Linked DNA regions of Homo sapiens: all the other regions are linked to region 5. The links are contacts of gene promoters, found by promoter capture Hi-C in blood cells and fetal thymus (Javierre and others, 2016). All regions are on one chromosome and are shown on one strand. Each heading gives the region's core, a stretch centred on a gene start or on the middle of the fragment in contact. The rest is flanking DNA. Distances are from core to core; before and after follow the strand shown. Region 1 overlaps ZSCAN21 (zinc finger and SCAN domain containing 21). Region 2 holds the start of LAMTOR4 (late endosomal/lysosomal adaptor, MAPK and MTOR activator 4). Region 3 holds the start of LOC105375423 (a long non-coding RNA gene). Region 4 overlaps CNPY4 (canopy FGF signaling regulator 4). Region 5 holds the start of ZNF789 (zinc finger protein 789).

What was found. Contacts are between HindIII fragments. The CHiCAGO score rates a contact against its expected background, and 5 or more counts as called.
Region 1: a fragment that was not itself captured here is called in contact with the fragment with the promoter of ZNF789 in region 5 in 1 of 17 cell types (erythroblasts); the score reaches 6.4 in erythroblasts.
Region 2: a contact is called between the fragment with the promoter of LAMTOR4 here and the fragment with the promoter of ZNF789 in region 5, in 1 of 17 cell types (neutrophils). The highest score is 5.3, in neutrophils.
Region 3: a contact is called between a fragment that was not itself captured here and the fragment with the promoter of ZNF789 in region 5, in 3 of 17 cell types (erythroblasts, megakaryocytes and fetal thymus). The highest score is 8.5, in erythroblasts.
Region 4: a fragment that was not itself captured here is called in contact with the fragment with the promoter of ZNF789 in region 5 in 1 of 17 cell types (erythroblasts); the score reaches 6.7 in erythroblasts.

What each region holds. Positions count from the first base shown.
Region 1 is chr7:100,060,198-100,063,503 of GRCh38, forward strand. The region is part of intron 3 of ZSCAN21 (zinc finger and SCAN domain containing 21); the gene reads left to right. Among named protein-coding and RNA genes, the nearest start is that of ZSCAN21, 12 kb to the left of the region's middle. The HindIII fragment of the contact is 4,595 bases long and covers 1-3,306 here.
Region 2 is chr7:100,147,431-100,150,644 of GRCh38, forward strand. LAMTOR4 (late endosomal/lysosomal adaptor, MAPK and MTOR activator 4) reads left to right here and starts at 1,488. Exons shown (of 4, transcript NM_001008395.4): 1 at 1,488-1,545; 2 at 2,069-2,149. The coding sequence starts at 1,543. RefSeq lists enhancers at 491-1,103, 1,128-1,187, 1,458-1,567, 1,716-2,328 and silencers at 1,868-1,957, 1,968-2,057. The HindIII fragment of the contact is 7,868 bases long and covers 1-2,838 here.
Region 3 is chr7:99,995,673-99,998,535 of GRCh38, forward strand. LOC105375423 (a long non-coding RNA gene) reads left to right here and starts at 1,403. Exons shown (of 3, transcript NR_159960.1): 1 at 1,403-1,438. RefSeq lists enhancers at 1,761-1,850, 1,861-1,980. The HindIII fragment of the contact is 2,314 bases long and covers 279-2,592 here.
Region 4 is chr7:100,123,771-100,126,781 of GRCh38, forward strand. CNPY4 (canopy FGF signaling regulator 4) reads left to right here. Exons shown (of 6, transcript NM_152755.2): 5 at 744-861; 6 at 955-1,738. The coding sequence ends at 1,118. It also overlaps a transcript of TAF6 not described here. Among named protein-coding and RNA genes, the nearest start is that of MBLAC1, 1.7 kb to the right of the region's middle. RefSeq lists an enhancer at 1,767-2,436. The HindIII fragment of the contact is 158 bases long and covers 1,228-1,385 here.
Region 5 is chr7:99,471,390-99,474,643 of GRCh38, forward strand. It overlaps ZNF789 (zinc finger protein 789), which reads left to right and starts at 1,501. Exons shown (of 5, transcript NM_213603.3): 1 at 1,501-1,667. RefSeq lists enhancers at 741-900, 1,121-1,210, 1,501-1,790. The HindIII fragment of the contact is 10,687 bases long and covers 1-2,185 here.

The DNA of each region.
Region 1 (3,306 bases), core at 386-2,885, 590 kb after region 5:
GCATTGGACATCAGTGTGGGATCAGATGAGAAGGTCCAGTGTATGTTTAATAGCTGTTCCAGAGGAGGCGGAAAGAGTTGGAGAGGGCAGACATGATGGCTCACACCGGTCATCCCAGCACTTTGGGAGGCCGAGGAGGGCGGATCATGAGGTCAGGAGATGGAGACCATCCTGGTCAACATGGTGAAACCCCATCTCTACTAAAAATACAAAAATTAGTTGGGCGTGGTGGCATGCACCTGTAGTCCCAGCTACTCAGGAGGCTGAGGCAGGAGAATCGCTTGAAGCCAGGAGGCGGAGATTGCAGTGAGCCAAGATCGCGCCATTGCACTCCAGCCTGGCAACAGAGTGAGATTCCATCTCAAAAAATAAAAAAAAAACCAGACTGGCTGGGCATGGTGGCTCACGCCTGTAATCCCAACACTTCGGGAGGCTGAGGCAGGCGGATCACCTGAGGTCAGGAGTTTGAGACCAGCCTGGCCAACATAGTGAAACTCCATCTCAACCGGGCATGGTGGCACGTGTTGTCCCTGGGACCTGTAGTCCCAGCTACTCGGGAGGCTGAGGCAGGGGAATCGCTTGAACTTGGGAGGCAGAGGTTGCAGTAAGTCAAGATCGCGCCACTGCACTCCAGCCTGGCGCAACAGAGTAGGACTCCGTCAAAAAAAAAAAAAAAAAAAACATTTCTACTAAAAATACAAAAATTAGTCGAGTGTATTGGTACACGCCTGTAGTCCCAGCTCCCAGCTACTTGGGAGGCTGAGGCAGGAGAATCACCTGAACCCAGGAGGTGGAGGTTGTGGTGCAGCAGTGACCTGAGATTGCACCACTGCACTCCAGCCTGGGCGACAGAGTGAGACCGGGTCTCAAAAGTAACCAAGACATAAAAGACGGATTACCCCCCTCAAAGGAATGCTGATTAGACTGATGACAAACTACCCAACAGTAACAGTGCAGCCTGGAAGACAATGAAATAAATAGTCCTGGTAAATTCTTTTTCAATTTTTGCCTCATTCAGCTATTTTTTAAAATGTTAACTTTTGGCTGGGCATGGTGGCTCACACCTGTAATCCCAGCACTTTGGGAGGCCAAGGCAGGTGGATCATTTGAGGCCAGGAGTTTGAGGCTAGCCTGAGCAACATGGTAAAACCCCATTTGTACAAAAAATACGAAAATTAGCCAGGTGTGGTGGCTAGTGCCTGGGGTCCCAGCTATTCGGGAGGCTGAGGCAGGAGGATCATTTGAGCCTGGGAGGTGGAGGTTGCAGTGAGCTAAGATTATGCCACTGTACTCCCACCTGGGCAACAGAGCCAGACTCTATCTCAAAACAAAACAAAGTTTATGAGGTTACTTCTGTCCCACACATGTAGTCCATGGCTGTCCAGTGACTCGAAGAGAAGTCTGTGTGTAGGCAAGCGATTGCTAATTATGGAGAGTGTGAAGGACTTCAGCTGCTGAAGCTCTGACCCCCAGCAGATGGTGAGGAGAGGGTGAGCCTGGAAGCAGCTGATAGTCACTGTCAGCAAAGGAAGGAGATAGACAGCTGGGCAGAGAGAGAGAAGCTGTCAGGGCGGTTCCTAGGGAAGGGGAAACGGGTGAAGAAGGTAGCTTGCTGACAGGCTTCTGTACCCTCAGAGGACTAACAGTTCTCCAAGGGGTCCCATTTTTCAGAGCGAATTTCTCTTACTCCCCTTTTCCCTGATGTGGATGGCCAGGTGGACTTTGAAGAGGTGTGACTGCCTGGTGAGGCGTTCTAAAAAGATAAACTGGTTCCATCTGATTTTAATAGTGAGCGTCACTTTATAACTGAATTACAAGATGTAGCCAGTGTAAGTAAATGATGAGCGTGAAGCCCTCTTGGAGATCACGTGCTTTCATTCTGATTGATACGGATCTGGGGCGGGAATGATTGTAAATGGTCAGAATGCCCTCTGATTGCTTTTATGTTCAACTGCTGTGGGAACATGGGTTTTTGTGAGTTTGCCACTCAGCCTCATCCTTAATTGTCCTTGTCATTTTCCTTAACCCTGGCCCTGCAGCAGTCATTCTCCCTTGTTTTTAATCTGCGTGAGGCTCAACTGTTCTTTTTTTTTTTTTTTTTTTTTTTAAAGGGCCGGGTGTGGTGGTTCATGCCTGTAATCCCAGCACTTCGGGAGGCTGAGGCGGGCAGATCACCTGAGGTCAGGAGTTCTAGACCAGCCTATGGTCTAGAACATGGAGAAACCCTGTCTCTACTAAAAATACAAAATAAGCCGGGCATGGTGGCACATGCCTGTAATCTCAGCTACTCGGGAGGCTGAGGCAGGAGAATCGCTTGAACCTGGGAGGCAGAGGTTGCGGTGAGCTGAGATTGAACCATTGCACTCCAGCCTGGACAACAGGAGCAAAACTCCATCTCAAAAAAAAAAAAAACATCTGGGCACGGTGGCTCACGCCTGTAATCCCAGCACGTGGATCACCTGATGTCAGGAGTTTGAGACCAGCCTAGCCAACATGGTGAAACCCCATCTCTATTAAAAATACAAAAATTAGCTGGGCGTGGTGCCAGGTGCTTCTAGTCCCAGCTCTTCGGGAGGCTGAGTCAGGAGAATCACTTGAACCCAGGAGCGGAGACTGCGGTGAGCCAAGATGATACCACTGCACTCCAGCCTGGGCAACAGAATGAGACTCCGTCTCAAAATAAATAAATAAAATAAATATTTTTTTAAAGATAGGGTCTCACTCTGTTGCCCAGGCCAGCACAATCATGGCTCACTGCAGTCTTGACCCATTGCAGCCTTGACCTTCCAGGCTTAAGTGATCCTCTTATTCAGTCTCCCAAGTAGCTGGGACCACAGGGGCACACCATGCCCACCTAATTTTTTTATTTTAACTTTTTGTAGAAATGGGGTCTCCCTATGTTGCCCAAGCTGGTCTTGAACTCCCAGACTCAAGCCATCCTCCCGCCTCAGCTCCCAAAGTGCTGGGATTACAGGCGTGAGCCGCTGTGCCCGGCTACCACTCTCATATGCTGCATTTTGCCTTCTGTATGTGAAGCTGTTTTTCTGGCAGAAAAAGCCACGTTCTCTTCACATCTTAATAGCTTCGGGTGGGGAATTGTGTGAAAGTGTGGTATGGAGGCCAGGCCTGGTGGCTCATGCCTATAATCCCAGCACTCTGGGAGGCTGAGGCAGGCGGATCACCTGAGGTCAGGAGATCAAGACCATCCTGGCCAGCATGTTGAAACCCCATCTCTACTAAAAAAAAATACAAAAAATAGCTGGGTGTGGTGGCACGTGCCTGTAATTCCAGCTACTCTGGAGGCTG
Region 2 (3,214 bases), core at 238-2,737, 680 kb after region 5:
TGGGACTACATGTGCAGTATCATGCCTGGTTAATTTTTAAATTTTTAGAGATGGGGTCTTGCTATGTTGCCCAGGCTTCTAGAATCATTCTTCATATTATTTCACTAACACAGCCTCCACCACATTAATATGGCAACAGGTTTAGAAATTATTTAAAACAAAAATTTCTAATGTTTACATATATTGTGTGATGTGTGTGTGTGTGTGTGTGTGTGTGTGTGTGTGTATCATTCCAAGGTACTGTTTCTAATTTTTTCCTGTAGGGAATGAATATTCAGTATTGCAGCTGCATTGGCTAGCTGGGGATTCTATTTACCACCACATTGTCCCGGACTGAATCTGGGGACAAAAAAACCACTTCGGGAACAAATTCTTGTCTTCAACAAAGAGCTGTCTTGAGTAGGCACAAAAGTAGCATTTGAGGGCCGGACGCGGTGGCTCAAGCCTGTAATCCCAGCACTTTGGGAGGCCGAGGCGGGCGGATCACGAGGTCAGGAGTTTGAGACCAGCCTGGCCAATATGGTGAAACCCTATCTCTACTAAAAACACAAAAATAGCCGGGCGTGGTGGTGGGCGCCTGTAATCCCAGCTACTCGCGAGGCTGAGGCAGGAGAATTGCTTGAACACGGGAGGCGGAAGTTGTATTGAGCCAGAGATCGCGCCATTGCACTGCAACCTGGGCGACCGAGTGAGACTCCGACTCAAAAAAAAAAAAAAGTAGCATTTGAGTACCTTTTTTTTCCTTTTCTTTTCTTTTTTTTTTAGAGGAAGGGCACCCAGGCTGGAGTGCAGTGGCACCATAATAGCTCACTGCACTCTGCAACTGCTGAGCTCAAGAGATTCTCCTCCATCAGCCTCCCTAGTAGCTGGAATTACTGGCGTGAGGCACCATGCCCGGCTTATTTTCTTATTTTTTTGTAGAGGTGGTTGGAGCGGGGGGACTGGGGAGGGTCTCGCTATGTTGCTCAGGCTCGTCTCGAACTCTTGCCCTGAAATGATCCGTCCTCGGCCTCGCAAAGCGCTGAGATTACAGGCGTGAGCCACGGCGCCCAGCCTTGAATAGTTTTTCACATGCATTGCACGTTATTTCCTTTTATTCTCTAGTTTTTGGGTCCAGTCTTAAACCTGGGAAGGGATTCATTTGGGGGGGTCACACCAGCGGGCATCCTGGCTCAGGCGGAACTCTGGCTCCAGACAGTGCGCCCAGGACCAAACGGTCAACCCCGGCCTACTCCCGCCCCTCCCAGATCCTCCCCTCCTCGGACGCTCCCGCGTCTTCCTCTCGCTCAGGCACTGAGGGGCGGGGAGATGGGTGTTAAAGAGGGGATATCACCAATCAACGTGCGCCTCCGGGAAACAGCGCTTCGCACTGGCTGGTTGGGTCTGACGACGTGGCCACTGTCCAATCCTCATGCTAGAGGCGGGGCTAAAGGCCAGTGGCGCAAGCAGAAGGAGGAGCGCAGCGGCTGCAAGCACGTGACCGGGGCCTGAAGCCGGAAGCTACCTATCTGGTAGGGAGCTCCCCCAGCACCGAAGACTGCGATGGTGAGTGAGGACGCATGCGCGAGAGGACCCGCCGGGGGTTCAGCGTCTCTGCTCCCCAGTCTGTGTGGTTTCCCCCTGGTGGGCCTGCGCTCCACCCTCACCTCCTATCCGCTCGGGGAGGAAGAGGGGATGGAAATGGGAGGGATGGCGACGAGAATGCTGGGGAGGGGTCTGTGGGAGGGTGTTCTGGGGCTGCGGGTAGTCTGCAGGTCGGGCGGAGACGAAGGGAGGTGAAGAGAGGGTCTGGGGGCAGGGGCCAGTGGGGCAGCAAAGGCCCCTTGGGGTAGCAAAGGTGGGATGTGGAAGGCCAGGGGAGCCCGGGGGCGAGAGTGGGGGCAGATGGAGGCTCGGGAAGATCAGTATTGAGGACCATGTAGGGGGGAGGGGGCCGGGAAGGGACCTGGCTGGGGAATGAGAAAACCTGGGGCCATCGTCAACCCAGAGACTTGGGTTTGCAGGTGAAGGGTATCGGGCCGTCCATCCCTCTAGCATGCTTCTCACGACTTGCATCTTTACCCACTAGACTTCTGCGCTGACCCAGGGGCTGGAGCGAATCCCAGACCAGCTCGGCTACCTGGTACTGAGTGAAGGTGCAGTGCTGGCGGTGCGTTCTGGGAAAGGGAGGGGGTCCCTTAGTGCACACAGCCCGGTAACCCCTTCTAATATTGGCCCTTCTTTTCTCGGCTTTTATCTGGTTTCCTGCCTGGCATCTATTAGGTTGGTACAAAAGTATTTGCAGTTTTTGCAATTACTTTCAGTAATCAGTCTGTGGAATCTTAGTCTCCTAACGGCTGCGATTTATTTATTTATAGTTTTTGAGACTGAGTTTCGTTCTTGTTGCCCAAGCTGGAGTGCAGTGGTGCGACCTCGGCTCACTGCAACCTCCGCCTCCGGGGTTCAAGCGATTCTCCTGCCTCAGCCTCCCGAGTAGCTGGGATTATAGGCACGTGCCACCATGCTCTGCTAATTTTTTGTATTTTTAGTAGAAACGGGGTTTCACCGTGTTAGCCAGGCTGGTCTCAAACTCCTGACCTCAGGTGATCCACCTGCCTCAGCCTCCCAAAGTGCTGGGATTACAGGCGTGAGCCAACATGCCTGGCCTTTATTTGGTATTTCTTAAAAAGGCATTTGTATTTTGTTCCATAGTACTGTATGGTGTTAGGTCTCTAGATTACAGGCGTGAGCCACCACGTCTGGCCTTTATTTGGTATTTCTTAAAGAGGCATTTGTATTTTGTTCCATAGTACTGTATAGTGTTAAGTCTCCAGATGTTTTTGACTTAGGTAGAGACAAAGCTTAAGGTTAAGGGTTGAAAACAATACAGGTGGTAAAGACTATTGAGGGAATCCAGGATATTAAAAATTCAACATGTTATGACAAGGTAACTAACTTTCCGGGAGGTAGGAATTCAGCCCACCTTAAAGGAGAGTATTTACAGTGGGGGAGGACTTATTTGCAGGTGTGTGGCACTAACCTATCTGAACTGATGGTAAGTTTATGCTGAAAAGATTTGGGAAGGTTTGAGGGAAGAGAGGAGGATATGGTCAGGGAGGATGTAATTGTGAAGGATCTTCAAGGCCAGGTTAACACACTTGAACTTATTCTTGAAGGTAATACAGTTTGAAAGGTTTTTTAAAACAGAAACAAGACCCAGTGAGGTGGTTGAGCA
Region 3 (2,863 bases), core at 186-2,685, 520 kb after region 5:
GCGCTGGGATTACAGGCATGAGCCACTGCGCCCCGCCTCCATGTTAATCACTCTTTCTGATTTCAAATAACTCATTATCCCCATGACCTTATGGATTTGTTTTTCCTCTTCATCCACAAAATTCTCCAGAGAAGTCTCCCTTGTTATCTCTTGGCTGTGCTTTCTATCTCACCAGTTATCTTTCTCCAAAGAGCTTCCTCTGCAAAGAAGCTTTGTATATGAAGACCATGTGGGGGCTGAATCAAGACCAAGTTTCACAACCTAAAAGTAGTTCACAAAGCTTCCTTGCCTCTATTCTCTGCAAATCTGTAAACTCTTCAGCTGACCCAATTTCTCTCTTTAGCCTTCAGAGATTATTTTATTTTATTTTATTTCATTTCATTTCATTTCATTTTGACAGAATCTAGCTCTGTCGCCCAGGCTGGAGTGCAGTGGCACCATCTTTGCTCACTGCAACCTCCCCCTCACAGGTTCAAGCAACTGTCCTGCCTCAGCCTCCCGAGTAGCTGGGATTACAGGCGTGAGCCACCACGCCCAGCTGATTTTTTTTTGTATTTTTAGTAGAGACAGGGTTTTGCCATGTTGGTCAGGCTGGTCTGGAACTCCTGATCTCAAATGATCCGCCTGCCTTCACCTCCCAAAGTGCTGGGATTACAGGCGGGAGCCACCACACCAGCCAATTCTATTTTTAATTTTATTGAAGAAGCGCTGTACTATTTCTCACGGGGGCTGCACCATGTTATGTTCCCACCAGCAATGCACAAAGATTCCAATTTGTCCACATCCTCACCAAACACCTGCTATTTTGTTTTGTTTTGTTGGTGGTGGTGGTGGTTTTTTGTGTTTGTTTGTTTGTTTGTTTTTAGTACAGGGAGAGTATCCCTAATCCAAATATCTGAGCTCCAAAAGTTACAAAACCAGAACTTGAGGGCCATCATGGCACTTAGAGAAAATGCTCATTAGAGCATTTCAGACTTAGGATTTTGGGATTAGGGCTGCTCAACCAGTAAAGCAAATATTCCAAAGTCAAAAAAAAATTCTGAAATCTGAAACATTTCCGGTCCCAAGCATTTCAGATAAGGGATATTTAAACTGTAGCCATCCCGACGAGTGTGAGGCGTCTTCTCAAAAGTCTTGCACACTATTTTGTCTGCTTTGATCTGTCATGTGTTTCCTACCACTTTGAAAGCATAACGAATTTTATCCGTATTCATTTATGATGAGAGGCAGTCCAGGCAGTGCAAAGGGCACAAATCGTGGTCCCACAAGTCCTGGCTTCTGACCCGGATCACTGTGAGACCCTGAGCAAGCAAGAACTTGCTCCAGGCCTCAGTTTCCTTGGTCTCTGGGGGAAGCCAGGATGATAATCAGCCATGCTCCAACCCCTCAGCTGAAACTCAGGCCTGGATGCATTGTAAATGGATTTCCTCTTCCACAGGTGAGCCGCTGAATTCGATTCCTTCTTCCTTCCTTCCTTCCTTCTTTCCTTCCTTCCTTTCTTCCTTCCTCTCTTCCTTCCTTCCCTCTCTCCCTCCTCCCTCCCTCTGTCCTTCCTCCCTCTCTCCTTCCCTCTCTTCTTTCCTTTTTTTTCCTTTTTGAGATGGGGTCTCACTGTGTTTCCCAGGCTGGAGTGCAATGGTGCAAGCAAAGCTCACTGCAGCCTCTGACTCCAGGGCTCAAGTGATCCTTCCACTTAAGCCTCCCGAATAGCTGGGGCTACAGGTGTGCCCCACCACACCCGGCTCATTTTATTAATTCTTGGTAGAGACCAGGTCTCTCTCTGTTGCCCAGGCCAGTCTCGAACTCCTGGCCTCAAGCGATCCTCCCACCTCGGCCTCCCAAAGGACTGGGATTACAGGTACGAGTCACTGCGCCCAGGCTTTTCTCCCTTTTGACTCATTTTGAGGCCCCCGTCGTAGGGTACACGCCCTGGGAATCGGGGGTCTTCCAGTATAGGGAACCACCGAGATGCGGGCCCTCCGAAGTCCTAGAGAGGGCGCCTCGGCCGCCGGCACCCGCCACACTTCCGGCCTTTGTGGGCCGCAGCGACGGCGGTCTGCGGCTGTCGGTTCTGTTTGTTGCTGTCACTGCTGTTTGTTCTTGCCAGCGGCTAGGTGTGTAGTTGCTTGGGGCTCCTAGCACGAGGCCTCTGTCCCCAGGCACGCAGCGCCAGTCTCCGGCTGTTGCGCCCTGGGCGCCGCCTCTCTCCGGCCCCCCTTTGTTTCCTGAGCCAGCTGGGAAGACTAAAAGGGTGGGTCCTGGGAGCGGCCCATGGTTCGACCCTTCTTTTCAGGCATCCTTGGAGCATGCAGGCTGCAGATTTCAGGCCGACCCCGCTAGCACCAAAGTCCATGCTGCTGTCCGTGGCAGCTCAGTTTGAAAATGGCCTGGTAGAAAGTCCAGGTTGTTGAACTGGTAAACGCACTCTGCATCCCTTGACTTGAAGTTTTCATTATTCTCTAACGTGCACTTACCCCCAGTAGAGAGCAAATGAAGATTCATACAAGAAATACTGCCTTTCCCAAAATGGGACATTCCAGCAAGGGTGCCGGTACTGACTTGGGTTAGCTTAAGAGAGAGATGCAGTTGAAAAGCTTGTCGGCAGGGATCAGGGAAGACTTCCACTAAGTGGTGTGTATTCAAAGGAGAGGTAGGAATTGGTTAGGTGGACGACATGCTCCACCATCCAAGAAGAACATTCCAGATGGAACTCAGGCAAAAGCACAAAGTTCGAAAAGTCAGAAGTGCAGGGGAAGTGGTAAATATTTCGACACCATCCAGATAAATGGTTGTTTTTGGTTTTTTGGGATGGGGGACAGGGTCTTGCTCTGTTGCCCAGGCTGGAGTGCAGTGGCACGATCTC
Region 4 (3,011 bases), core at 57-2,556, 650 kb after region 5:
TGGCCTCCCAAAGTGCTGGGATTACAGGCATGAGCCATTGGGCCCTGCCTTAAGGAAAATTTTTAAAAAGTAATAATGGGCCAGGTGCGATGGCTCACGTATGTAATCCCAGCACTTTGGGAGGGCGAGACAGGCGGATCACGACATCAGGGGTTCAAGACCAGCCGGGCCATCATAGTGAAACCCTGTCTCTACTAAAAATACAAGAATTAGCCGGGCGTGGTGGTGTGGTGGCATGCATCTGTAGTCCCAGCTACTCAGGAAGCTGAGGCAGGAGAATCACTTGAACCCGGGAGGCGGAGGTTGCAGTGAGCTGAGATCCCACCACTGCAGTCCAGCCTGGGTGACAGAGCGAGACTCCATCTCAAAAAAAAAAAAAAGTAACAATGGTTGCTAATGATATCCACCATCACTTATTGAGCACCTACTGTGTCCCAGACTCTGGACCAGATACTTTGCATCTGTAGCCTCATTTTACCCTTAACAGCCTGATGTGGTAGGTGCAATTACCATACATATTTTACAGGCAAGGAGCTGAGACTCAAGAGTTTAATAATCTACTTGGCAGAATAGGTGCTGGTAAATGTTTGTTGAATGAATGAGGATTGCACATCTAGTAGGCCAAACTTAGCTTCCTGGCTACCTGCCTCTCCAAAATCAGTCAGGTTGAGCAGGGAGAGAAGACAGGCGGGATCCCAAATCCCTCCAGAGCAGATACTCTTCTGGCCCTTCTACTTGACCAGTGTGAGACCATGTTGGAGGAGTTTGAAGACATTGTGGGAGACTGGTACTTCCACCATCAGGAGCAGCCCCTACAAAATTTTCTCTGTGAAGGTCATGTGCTCCCAGCTGCTGAAACTGGTAAGCGTAAGGGTTGAACTCCTCTCCTGCCAAGCCATAGCCTCCCCTGCCTCCAGGACTAATATCTAAATTGTTTTCTGTCATCCGATCTAGCATGTCTACAGGAAACTTGGACTGGAAAGGAGATCACAGATGGGGAAGAGAAAACAGAAGGGGAGGAAGAGCAGGAGGAGGAGGAGGAAGAGGAGGAAGAGGAAGGGGGAGACAAGATGACCAAGACAGGAAGCCACCCCAAACTTGACCGAGAAGATCTTTGACCCTTGCCTTTGAGCCCCCAGGAGGGGAAGGGATCATGGAGAGCCCTCTAAAGCCTGCACTCTCCCTGCTCCACAGCTTTCAGGGTGTGTTTATGAGTGACTCCACCCAAGCTTGTAGCTGTTCTCTCCCATCTAACCTCAGGCAAGATCCTGGTGAAACAGCATGACATGGCTTCTGGGGTGGAGGGTGGGGGTGGAGGTCCTGCTCCTAGAGATGAACTCTATCCAGCCCCTTAATTGGCAGGTGTATGTGCTGACAGTACTGAAAGCTTTCCTCTTTAACTGATCCCACCCCCACCCAAAAGTCAGCAGTGGCACTGGAGCTGTGGGCTTTGGGGAAGTCACTTAGCTCCTTAAGGTCTGTTTTTAGACCCTTCCAAGGAAGAGGCCAGAACGGACATTCTCTGCGATCTATATACATTGCCTGTATCCAGGAGGCTACACACCAGCAAACCGTGAAGGAGAATGGGACACTGGGTCATGGCCTGGAGTTGCTGATAATTTAGGTGGGATAGATACTTGGTCTACTTAAGCTCAATGTAACCCAGAGCCCACCATATAGTTTTATAGGTGCTCAATTTTCTATATCGCTATTAAACTTTTTTCTTTTTTTCTAAAAACTAGCTGGGCCCAAAGTTTCAAACAACAGCCGGGCACACATAGCTAGCTGGTCGATGAGGCAGCACCCAGAATGGCCGCTGTCTTGTTAAGCTCAAGCTCCAGCCTGAGCAACATAGTGAAACCCCAATTCTACACACACACACACACACAAAGAAGACTGCAGGGCTGGTGGTGCAGCGCCTGTAGTCCCAGTTACTGCAGAGGTGGAGATGGGAGGATCACTTGAGTCCAAAAGGTCAAGACCAGCCTGGAGGCTGGGCGCAGTGACTCACACCTGTAATCCTAGCACTTTGGGAGGCCGAGGCAGGCGGATCACCTGAGTGTAGGAGTTCGAGAGCAGCCTGGCCAACATGGAGAAACCTCGTCTCTACCAAAAATACAAAAATTAGCCGGGCGGCTGGGCGCGGTGACTCACGCCTGTAATCCCAGCACTTTGGGAGGCCAAGGCGGGTGGATAACAAGATTAGGAGATCGAGACCATCCTGGCTAATACGGTGAAAGCCCGTCTCTACTAAAAATACAAAAAATTAGCCGGGTGTGGTGGCAGGCGCCTGCAGTCCCAGCTACTCGGGAGGCTGAGGCAGAAGAATGGCGGGAACCCGGGAGGCGGAGCTGGCAGTGAGCCAAGATCGTGCCACTGCACTCCAGCCTGGGTGATAGAGCGAGACTCCGTCTCAAAAAAAAAAGCCACGCATGGTGGTGGGCGCCTGTAATCCCAGTTACTCGGGAGGCTGAGACAGGAGAATCGCTTGAACCCAGGAGGCGGAGGTTGCAGTGAGCTGAGATCACGCCACTGCACTCTAGCCTGGGCGACAGAACAAGACTCCGTCTCAAAAAAAACCAAAAAAAATTTAGAGGGGCGTGCACGCCTGTATTCCCAGCACTCCAGGAGGCTGAAGCAGGAGGATCGCTAGAACCAGGGGTTCAAGACTGGGGCGAGCTATGATGGTGCCCCTGCACTCTAGCCTGGGCGACAGGGCGAGACTGTCTCAAAAGAAAAAAAGACCAGGCGCGGTGGCTCACACCTGTAATCCTAGCACTTCAGGAGACCAAGACTGGAGGATCGCTGGAGCCCAGGAGTTCCAGACCAGTCCTGGCAACAGAACTAGACCGTGTCTCCAAAAAAAAAGAGAAAGAAAAAATAGAAACCTTAGCTGGGCTTGGTGGTGCGCATCTGTGGTCCCAGATACTCGGGACGCTGAGGCGGGAGGATCACATGAGCCCAGGAGGTTGAGGCTGCAGTGAGGTATGATCGCGCCACTGCACTCCTGC
Region 5 (3,254 bases), core at 251-2,750:
TCATTCATAAGTGGGAATTGAATATTGAGAACGCATGGACACAGAGAGGGGAACAACACACACCTGGGCCTTTTGGGGAGTCGGGGGTAAGGGGAGGGAACTTAGAGGATGGGTCAATAGGTGCAGCAAACCACCATGGCACATGTAACAAACCTGCACGTTCTGCACGTGTATCCTGTTTGTTTTGTTTTGTTTAGAAGAAATAAAAAACAAACAAAACTTGGGAGGCCAAGGCAGGCGGATCACTTGAGGTCAGGAGTTCGAGACCAGCCTGGCCAAAATGGTGAAACCCCGTCTCTACTAAAAACACACACACAAAAAAAATTAGCCGGGAGTGGTAGCGGGCGCCTGTAGTCCCAGCTACTCAGGAGGCTGACGCAGGAGAATGGCGTGAACCCGGGAGGCGGAGCTTGCAGTGAGCCGAGATCGCGCCACTGCACTCCAGCCTGGGCGAGAGCGAGACTGTCTCAAAAAAAAAAGAAAAAAAATTAACCCCTTACTCACATTAAAACTGTATTTTGGGGGTAATTTACATAAGCCACACAATTATCCTTTTAATTAAGATCTAATATTCTTTTTTTTTTTTTTGAGACAGAGTCTCGCTCTGTCGCCAGTCTGGAGTGCAGTGGTGGGATCTCGGCTCACTGCAAGCTCCGCCTCCCGAGTTCAAGTGATTCTCCTGCCTCAGCCTCCCGAGTAGCTGGCACTACAGGCACGCCGCCACCATGCCCAGCTAATTTTTTTTTTTTTTTTTTTTTTTTTGAGACGGAGTCTCGCTCTGTCACCCAGGCTGGAGTGCGGTGGCGCAATCTCGGCTCACCGCAACCTCCGCCTCCCGGGTTCAAGCGCTTCTCCTGCCTCAGCCTCCCGAGTAGCCGGGGTTACAGGCAGGCACCACCATGCCCGGCTAATTTTATTTGTATTTTTAGTAGAGACGGGTTTCTCCATTGTTGGTCAGGCTGGTATCGAACTCCCGACCTCAGGTGATCCACCCGCCTCGGCCTCCCAGAGTGCTGGGATTACAGGCGTGAGCCACCGCGCCCGGCAATTTTTTTGTATTTTTAGTAGAGAAGGGGTTTCACCATGTTGGCCAGGATGATCTAAATCTCTTGACCTGATCCGCCGGCCTCTGCCTCCCAAAGTGCTGGGATTACAGGCGTAAGCCACCGCGCCTGGCCCATTTTTCTTCTTTTATCTGATAACCTTACTCCCCTCCACAAACACACAGCCAAAGAAACGAATTGTGTCGCTCTTGAATCATAGAATAATTCTAAATTATGTTACGATTAAACAGGAGGGGCGGGGCCCTGTCCATCACGTGACTCTCTCGGTGCTGTCTCCGGCCGTTGATTGGCCTGGGCGGGGAGGGCGGCCGTTGATTGGTTCGGGCCCACTCGCGCGGGCGCCACTCTCTTTGTCTGACAAGAGAGTCGTGAAGCCTCCGCGGTCCTAGAGGGGCCGCTGGCTGGGACGCTTCGCTCGGCGCGCGCAGGTGGAGCCAGCGAGAGGCTCTGAGGCTGCCAGAGTGGTTGTGTCTGTTCCTCCGGTAAGGGGTGATTCGCCGAGGGGCGCGGACCAGACAGACCTCGGGTCAGGCCCGGGAACCCCGAGAGGAGAGCCCAGCCCCTGGTGGAGGCGGCTTGGCGGAGATTCGGAGCCGTCAGCAGGTTTGGGGAGAAGGAAACGAGTGTTGTGGGGGGCGTGGGTGCGGGGGGTAGGCCACTGCGCACACCCCCGGCTCGCAGGGGACGCTCCGGGTTTGTGCGGCGGCTCTCGGGGCCTGTGGCACCAGCTTTTGAGTATTTTTGGCGGTGTCAAGTCTTCGGCAGCGAGAGGAGCAAAGTCCGAAGAATGAATGGATGGTGAACGCCTGGACTTGGTTTTGTTAGAGTGGGAGATGAGCCGTGGTTGTTAGTGGAAGGTGTTCACGTGATTGTGAAGCGGCATTTTGGATTTTGTCAAAAGTTAACAGTCCCCTCCAGTTAAAGTTTTAAGAGTTTATTGTGCATGCAGAGGAACAGCTGGCAAATTGTTCCAATGGCAGCTTGGAAAGCTAAATGAGGAAGTGCAGTGATCTTGATTGTAATTGGCCATTATCAACTTGCATTCCTTCTAGGGTAAGTCGAGCTGGATCAGCCTCGCATCTGTAGCTGATTGGTTCAGTTTATCATGCGGACGAGAAAAAAGCTTCTTTCCTGGTCAGCGCACACTTTTCAGGGAAATAAGGAATTGTTGTTGCTGTTGTGTTTGAGACGAAGTGTTACTCTGTTGCCCAGTTTGGAGTACAATGGGCCAATCTCGACTCACTGCAACCTCCAACTCCCGGGTTCAAGCGATTCTCCTGCCTCAGCCTCTCGAGTAGCGGGGACTACAGGCACGCGCCACCATGCCCGGCTAATTTTTGTATTTTTAGTGGAGACTGGGTTTCACTATGTTGGCCAGGCTGGTCTTGAACTCCTGACCTCATGATCCGCCCGCCTCGGCCTCCCAAAGTGCTGGGATTTACAGGTGTGAGCCACCACGCCCGGCCTGTTGTTTTTAAGAGAGACAGGGTCTTGCTCTGTCACCCAGGGTGGAGTGTAGTGGTGCCATCATAGCTCATTGCAGTCTCCAACTCCTGAACTCAAGGGAGAAATCAATGTATTTTAAATGCCTTACATGGCTGTGGGTGGTTGGCCTAGGGCCGTACCCAAAACATGGACTCCATTTAATTTTTCATTAGCAAGTCTGACATTCAGATGCACAGCCTTCACAAACACATTCAGTAAATATAGTGCAGGGGTGTCCAATCTCTTGGCTTCCCTGGGCCACATTGGAAGAAGAATTGTCTTGGACTACACATAAAATACACAAACACTAAAAATAGCTCATGAGCTAAAAAAAAATCGCAAAACAATTTCATAAGGTTTTAAGAAAGTTTACGAGCCGGGCGCGGTGGCTCACGCCTGTAATCCCAGCACTTTGGGAGGCCAAGGCGGGAGGATCACGAGGTCAGGAGATCAAGACCATCCTGGCTAACACGGTGAAACCCCGTCTCTACTAAAAATACAAAAAATTAGCGGGGCGTGGTGGCGGGCGCCTGTAGTCCCAGCTACTCGGGAAGCTGAGGCAGGAGAATGGCGTGAACCCGGGAGGCGGAGCTTGCAGTGAGCCGAGATCGCGCCACTGCACTCCAGCCTGGGCGACAGAGCGAGACTCCACCTCAAAAAAAAAAAAAAGAAAGTTTACGAATTTGTGTTGGGTTGGATTCAAAG